2 separate regions of the Homo sapiens genome follow, and region 2 is linked to region 1. The links are contacts of gene promoters, found by promoter capture Hi-C in blood cells and fetal thymus (Javierre and others, 2016). All regions are on one chromosome and are shown on one strand. The core of a region is centred on a gene start or on the middle of the fragment in contact, and the rest is flanking DNA. Distances in the headings are between cores, read along the strand shown.

Region 1 (3,315 bases), core at 742-3,241:
ATAATTTTGACTGGATTACTGTTCTCATGTTTTAGGCCTAACTTGTTTAAAAATTTGATGAGTGGCCGGGCGTGGTGGATCATGCCTGTAATCCTGGCACTTTGGGAGGCTGAGGTGGGCAGATCACAAGGTCAGGAGATCAAGACCATCCTGGCCAACATGGTGAAACACAGTCTCTACTAAAAATACAAACATTAGCTGGGCATAGTGGCACATGCCTACAGTTCCAGCTACTTAGGAGGCTGAGGCAGGAGAATCACTTGAACCCAAGAGGCAGAGGCTGCAGTGAGCCGAGATCATGCCACTGCACTCCAGCCTGGGCAACAGAGCAAGACTCTGTCTCAAGAAAAAAAAAAGTTTGATGAGTGTGGGGCTAGTGTTGTGATAGTCTCCTGTGCCCTGCCAACTCTTTTGGATTATTTTTTAAAATGAGGAACATTTCAGATTTAGTTTGTAGCAATTCAACTTTGGGAGTCTTGCAAGAACTCACTTATTTTAATGGAAAATAGCCCAGGTTGTCTACCAGCTTTTCCTGAGCTCTGTTTTGGGTGTTCTACCCAAAATAAAAAACGTATAAACACAAAAATAGTAATGTTCATGTCTGTGACAGCCAATGTTAAGTCTCTGCTGTTGTCTATGGCTGTTATCCAAAAAGTAGATTCAATTCTGTCATGTATTGGAGTCTGGGAATGTTGTTAAGAGATACATACATTGAAATTTGGAGAGCTGCTCTGTATTTATCAATTAGGCAGTAATAATCTTGGATGAAGGCTAGTCTTATTAATGTTGTGAACCAGTCTTATTAATGTTGTGAACCAGTAGTGTCCCCAGGAATAGAGAACACTACACTACTCACTTTGCATTTTCTTATCCACATAATAGAATTAGTTAGTGATAACCCTCTTTACTCGGAATCGATTGCTGCCACATTTCTGCATGATACATAGATCTCTGCAAATATGTGATTTTTTTCCTAAATGGAGAAAATCCAAAAATTCTTCTTAAAATTTTTCATGGGCATACAAGAAGATAGGAGGTGACATCTTAAAACAAGTATCTCTGAACTTTTTGTATAAAAAAAAGCAACCTCTTTGCTCTATTATTAATACCACATGTGGTGATATGAATGCCCAAATGTAGACAGCAGTTATGAGATATTACAAGAGAAGAAAAAAGCTCTGCCGCTTATGGCAACTTACCCAAAAAGTTATCTTTGACTTAGGCTGGAGGTGCACATAGCATAGCTCCTAGAGTTCTGTTTATGTCATGAATATTTGTTACTCAAAACTCCATAGGCCAAGAGCTCCTGAAGAGAAGGTCACATGCTAGCAGCAATTGTCATTTTTTCCCTCAAATATTGCTATAGTATAATTTTGTTTGAATTATAAACTTCAGTCTTTATTATATTTGATTCTGGCATTTTGGTTTGTAGTGCTATAGTACAGGAAATGTTTTAAATGCTTTGCCTTTATGTAAGTGAATATCGGTACACACACATACACATACACACACAGACACAGACACACACACACACACACTCACAGCCAGTTTAGAATGTGGGGTAAGGAACACCAGACAAAGAGGGCAATATAAGAAAGAGAAGACATTGAAAACATTGGGAAGAGGCAGTAACAGAGTGCCAGAGAAGATAAGGCAGCTGGGAGGGGGAGAAACTAAGTGAGGTGGATAAACTAAAAGCATCCTTCTGGGTTAAAGCAGACTAAAAGCTTAGCAATTGCTTAATATCACCATCTTATCCTATAGATGTGGGAATAAAGGCTAAGGAAGGAGAAATGAAAATGCAGAATCATATGGGGGCTTTTCCAAGGAGGTATGAAGGAAGGTGAGGACAGGGAGAGCGGCTGGAAGTCAGGGGGTAAGAGAAACTCTAAAAATCAGGGCTTGAGGGAAATAAAAGGTGAGGTAAGAGGCTCAGGGCTGTGGGAGGCACATTTTTCTCTGAAAAGCAGTTTGGATGAGGAAGAGATTTGGCAGTTGGAAGAGAGAAGAAGTCACTACAGGGTACTGAGGAAAAGCTTTGCTGAAATTGGAGATCAAATACCAGCTCTGCCAGTAAGAAGTTGCATCTCCCAGTGAAATGCTGCTGCTGCCATTTCAACTGTTAGCTGTTCTCTTTCCTGGTGGTAACAGTGAACATGGTAAGAGTCACTCTGGCAGCTCCCAGCACTGGTGCAGGGGTTTGGATTTTAAAAAGCAAGCAGGGCTTTCCTAGGTGCAATTGGACACTAAGGGTCTGGGTCTTTCTGTCTCCCGCCCTCTTCAACCATTCTGGTGGTTGGGACTAGAACCTGAAGCCTTAAGGCAGTCAAATGTGTCAGACTTCCTGTGTTCTTTAGACTCTAGGTTCTTGTTTTCTAAATCATTTTCATTCCCATTCTTCCTAATTGTCTCCTGCTTCTCTCTTTATCTTCACCATCTTGCTTTTCCACTCTTCACAGCCTTCCAGGGGCCGACCTCCTTTCATGTTATCCAGACCTCGTCCTTTACCAATAGTACCTGGGCACAAACTCAAGGCTCAGGCTGGTTGGATGATTTGCAGATTCATGGCTGGGATAGCGACTCAGGCACTGCCATATTCCTGAAGCCTTGGTCTAAAGGTAACTTTAGTGATAAGGAGGTTGCTGAGTTAGAGGAGATATTCCGAGTCTACATCTTTGGATTCGCTCGAGAAGTACAAGACTTTGCCGGTGATTTCCAGATGAAATGTGAGTCTAGTCCACCGAACTGGGAAGAGTCTCAAGGACTCTCTTTTCTCTCTTTTTTGCAAAGTGTTGCTCTCTCTGATGCTTCTCCCTTCCTTTCTATTTTACCCAAATGCACGCACATGCTTTTCTTGAGTAGTCTCTCACTCCAGCTTCACACCATCACACCTCATATTTCAGATTCTTGCTGCCTCTGCACTCTTCTCTTACTCTCAGACTGTCTTCCACTTTGTAACCAGCTGCTGGTTTGTCTTATGTGAAACTTCTCCTCAAGGGCCCTTACTTCTCCTACCCTGTGCCTGAGTGATCTAACGTGTGGCTTTCTCCCCTAATCCATCTTTTCAATCATCTCCTCCCCGCACCCTCCTCTTGCTGGGAACCTCCACTCACTCTGGAATGCTGCACTCCTGACTGCACCACGCTCTGCCTCACCTCTCCTTTCATACTCACTGTACTCCTTTATCACATACCTTTGTCTTCATGGCATGCACATTTTTCTCAATGCTCTTGTTTCTGAAAATGTCTAAATGTTATCATTAGTTTTTAGCTCATCATCATTTTACACCAAATAACTTTATCCCCACCAAAATCT
Region 2 (3,097 bases), core at 265-2,764, 140 kb after region 1:
GATAAATGAATAAAGAAAATGTGGTGTGGCCATATTAATGCATAAAAACATACAGTTAGATAGAAGGAATAAGTTTGGTGTTCAATACTATAGCAGGGTAACTATAGTTAACATATTGTATATTTCAAAATAGCTGGAAGAAAAGATTTGAAATGTTACCAAGCGCAAAGAAATGGTAAATGTTTGAGATGATGGGTATGTTAAACACTCTGATTTGATCATTACACATGTATACATGTATCAAAATATCCCATGCACCCCATAAATACATACAATTATTATGTATCAACTTAAGAATTTTTTAAAAAGTAAATAGGAGAGGTTATTCTTTATGAGAGGGACAATGGGAAGCGGAGAGGAAGGGATACTAATTTTCTTTTCTGTCAGCATTTGTTTGAATTTTTAATCATATGTATGTTACATGATTTTTGTCATCAGGACTTATCTGCTGAAGAGGCACAATTTATTTTCTTTGTGTCACTAATTAAACTAGCTATTAATTATTTTTTAAAGAAATGGATAAAGATGTCAAATCAACAGCTTCAGCTTTTATCTTTAAAAGCTAGGGGGGAAAGAACAAACTAAACCCAAATTAAACAGAAGAAAGAAATCAATGAAAAGATTAATAAAACCAACAAACCTCTAGCCTGATTAATCTGTGGAGAAAGAGGAACAATACAAATTATCAATATCAGAAAAAGTTATTCAGATTATCTATTTCTTTTTTTTTTTTTTTTTTTTTTTTTTGAGACAGAGTCCCACTTTGTCACTCAGGCTGGAATGCAGTGGTACAATCTTGGCTCATTGCAACCTCCACCCCCCAGGTCCAAGCGATTCTCCTGCCTCAGCCTCCCGAGTAGCTGGGACTACAGACGCCAGCCACTGTGCCTGGCTAATTTTTATATTTTTAGTAGAGACAGGGTTTCACCATCTTGGCCAGGCTGGTCTTGAACTCCTGACCTTGTGATCCACCCGCCTCGGCCTCCCAAAGTGTTGTGATTACAGGCGTGAGCCACCGCGCCTGGCCATCTGTTTCTTTTTGAGTGAACTTTGGTAGTCTGTGTTTTTCAAGGTGTTTATTCATTTAATCAGAGCTGTTGAATAACTCTATATCTGCTAAAGAAAAGTGCATTTGTAGTTAAAAGCCTGCCTAAAAATGTCCCAAGACTGCATCTAAATGTTAAAACCAAATATACATCCAAAACTGAAAATGAAAAGTAGTCTGAGAAATGTACTTTTACCTTTCCAGTTTCAGCAAACCAATTCATAGCATCCACGACCCTGCATTTTAGATGAAGCATTTCTTCACCTAGATTCCAATAATTTGGAAAAGAAAAGAGAAAATGGTATCTCTACAAAATAAACTATTTTTCCTCCATTTTGAAAAGCCCTTGAATGACCTGCAATTCATTAATAGATTTTGGAGCAAGAGAGCCAGCACACTGATCAGGGGAGCTAACAAAGAATTAATAGATTCCAGGAGGGTGAGGAGTAGAGCCCAAAAAATGGTCTCCAGGGAGTTAGATACCAGAAGTCAGGAAGATGTGCTGTGGTAGCACAAAGCCATGCGTTAAGATTTTACTTATCGGCCAGGCACAGCGACTCACGCCTGTAATCTCAGCACTTTGGGAGGCCAAGGTGGGCAGATCACCTGAGGTCAGGAGTTCAAGACCAGCCTGGTCAACATAGCCAAACCCCATCTTTATGAAAAAAAATACAAAAATTAGCCAGGCGTGGTGGCGGGCGCCTGTAATCCCAGCTACTTGGGGGGCTGAGACAGGAGAATCGCTTGAACCTTGAACCTAGGAGACAGAAGTTGCAGTGAGCCGAGACTGCACCACTGTACTCCAGCCTGGAGGACAGAGTGAGACTCTGTCTCCAAAGGAAAAAAATATATATTTTACCTATTCTTTTGAGGTGATAACTATCGGGGGACCTGCCCCAATAATCACGTAGGTTCATTTCTATTTTCCTAAGCGTCGGCTGGCTTGAGAAATAAAGGGACAGAGTACAAAAGAGAGAAATTTTAAAGCTGGGCATCCGGGGGAGACATCACACGTTGGTAGGATCCGTGATGCCCCACAAGCCACAAAAACCAGCAAGTTTTTATCAGGGAGTTTCAAAAGGGGAGGGAGTATACGAATAGGTGTGGGTGACAGACATCAAGTACTTAACAGGGTAATAGAATATCACAAGGCAAGTGGAGGCAGGGCGAGATCACAGGACCACAGGATGGAGGCAAAATTAAAATTGCTAATGAAGTTTCAGGCACCATTGTCATTGATAACATCTTATCAGGAGACAGCGTTTTGAGATCAACCGGTCTGACCAAAATTTATTAGGCGGGAATTTCCTCTTCCTAATAAGCCTGGGAGTGCTGTGGGAGACTGGAGTTTATTTCACCTCTGCAATCTCGACCAAAAGAGACAGATACGCCCCGGGGGGGCCAGTTCAGAGACCTACCCCTAGGTGCGCATTCTCTTTCTCAGGGACGTTCCATGCTGAGAAAAAGAATTCAGCGATATTTCTCCCATTTGCTTTTGAAAGAAGAGAAATATGGCTCTGTTCTGCCCGGCTCACCGGCAGTCAGAGTTTAAGGTTATCTCTCTTATTCTCTGAACAATTGCTGTTATCCTATTCTTTTTTCAGGGTGCCCACATTTCATATTGCTCAAACACACATGCTGTACAATTTGTGTAGTTAACGCAATTATTACAGGGTCCTGAGACGATATACATCCTTCTCGGCTGACAGGATTAAGAGATTAAAGCAAAGACAGGCATAGGAAATCACAAGGATATTGATTGGGGAAGTGATAAGTGTCCATGAAATCTTTACAATTTATGTTTAGAGATTGCAGTAAAGACAGGCATAAGAAATTACAAAAGTATTAATTTGGGGAACTAATAAATGTCCATAAAATCTTCACAATCCACATTCTTCTGTCATGGCTTCAGCCGGTCCCTCCGTTTGGGGTCCCTGACTTCCCGCAACAGATAACCAAGAGTAAAAATTTTGTAAAATTTTAGGAAAGTAAACGGAGGTATTATCAGAGTCATATGGTATCTATTGTCTTAATGTTTTATCATACTTTCAT

The links. Contacts are between HindIII fragments. The CHiCAGO score rates a contact against its expected background, and 5 or more counts as called.
Region 2: a contact is called between a fragment that was not itself captured here and the fragment with the promoter of CD1B in region 1, in 3 of 17 cell types (fetal thymus, M2 macrophages and M0 macrophages). The highest score is 15.1, in fetal thymus.

Annotation. Positions count from the first base shown.
Region 1 is chr1:158,330,207-158,333,521 of GRCh38, reverse strand. CD1B (CD1b molecule) reads left to right here and starts at 1,991. Exons shown (of 6, transcript NM_001764.3): 1 at 1,991-2,159; 2 at 2,460-2,726. The coding sequence starts at 2,099. The HindIII fragment of the contact is 309 bases long and covers 1,730-2,038 here.
Region 2 is chr1:158,192,150-158,195,246 of GRCh38, reverse strand. No RefSeq gene overlaps it. Among named protein-coding and RNA genes, the nearest start is that of CD1D, 13 kb to the right of the region's middle. RefSeq lists enhancers at 1,247-1,952, 1,953-2,659. The HindIII fragment of the contact is 5,198 bases long and covers 1-3,097 here.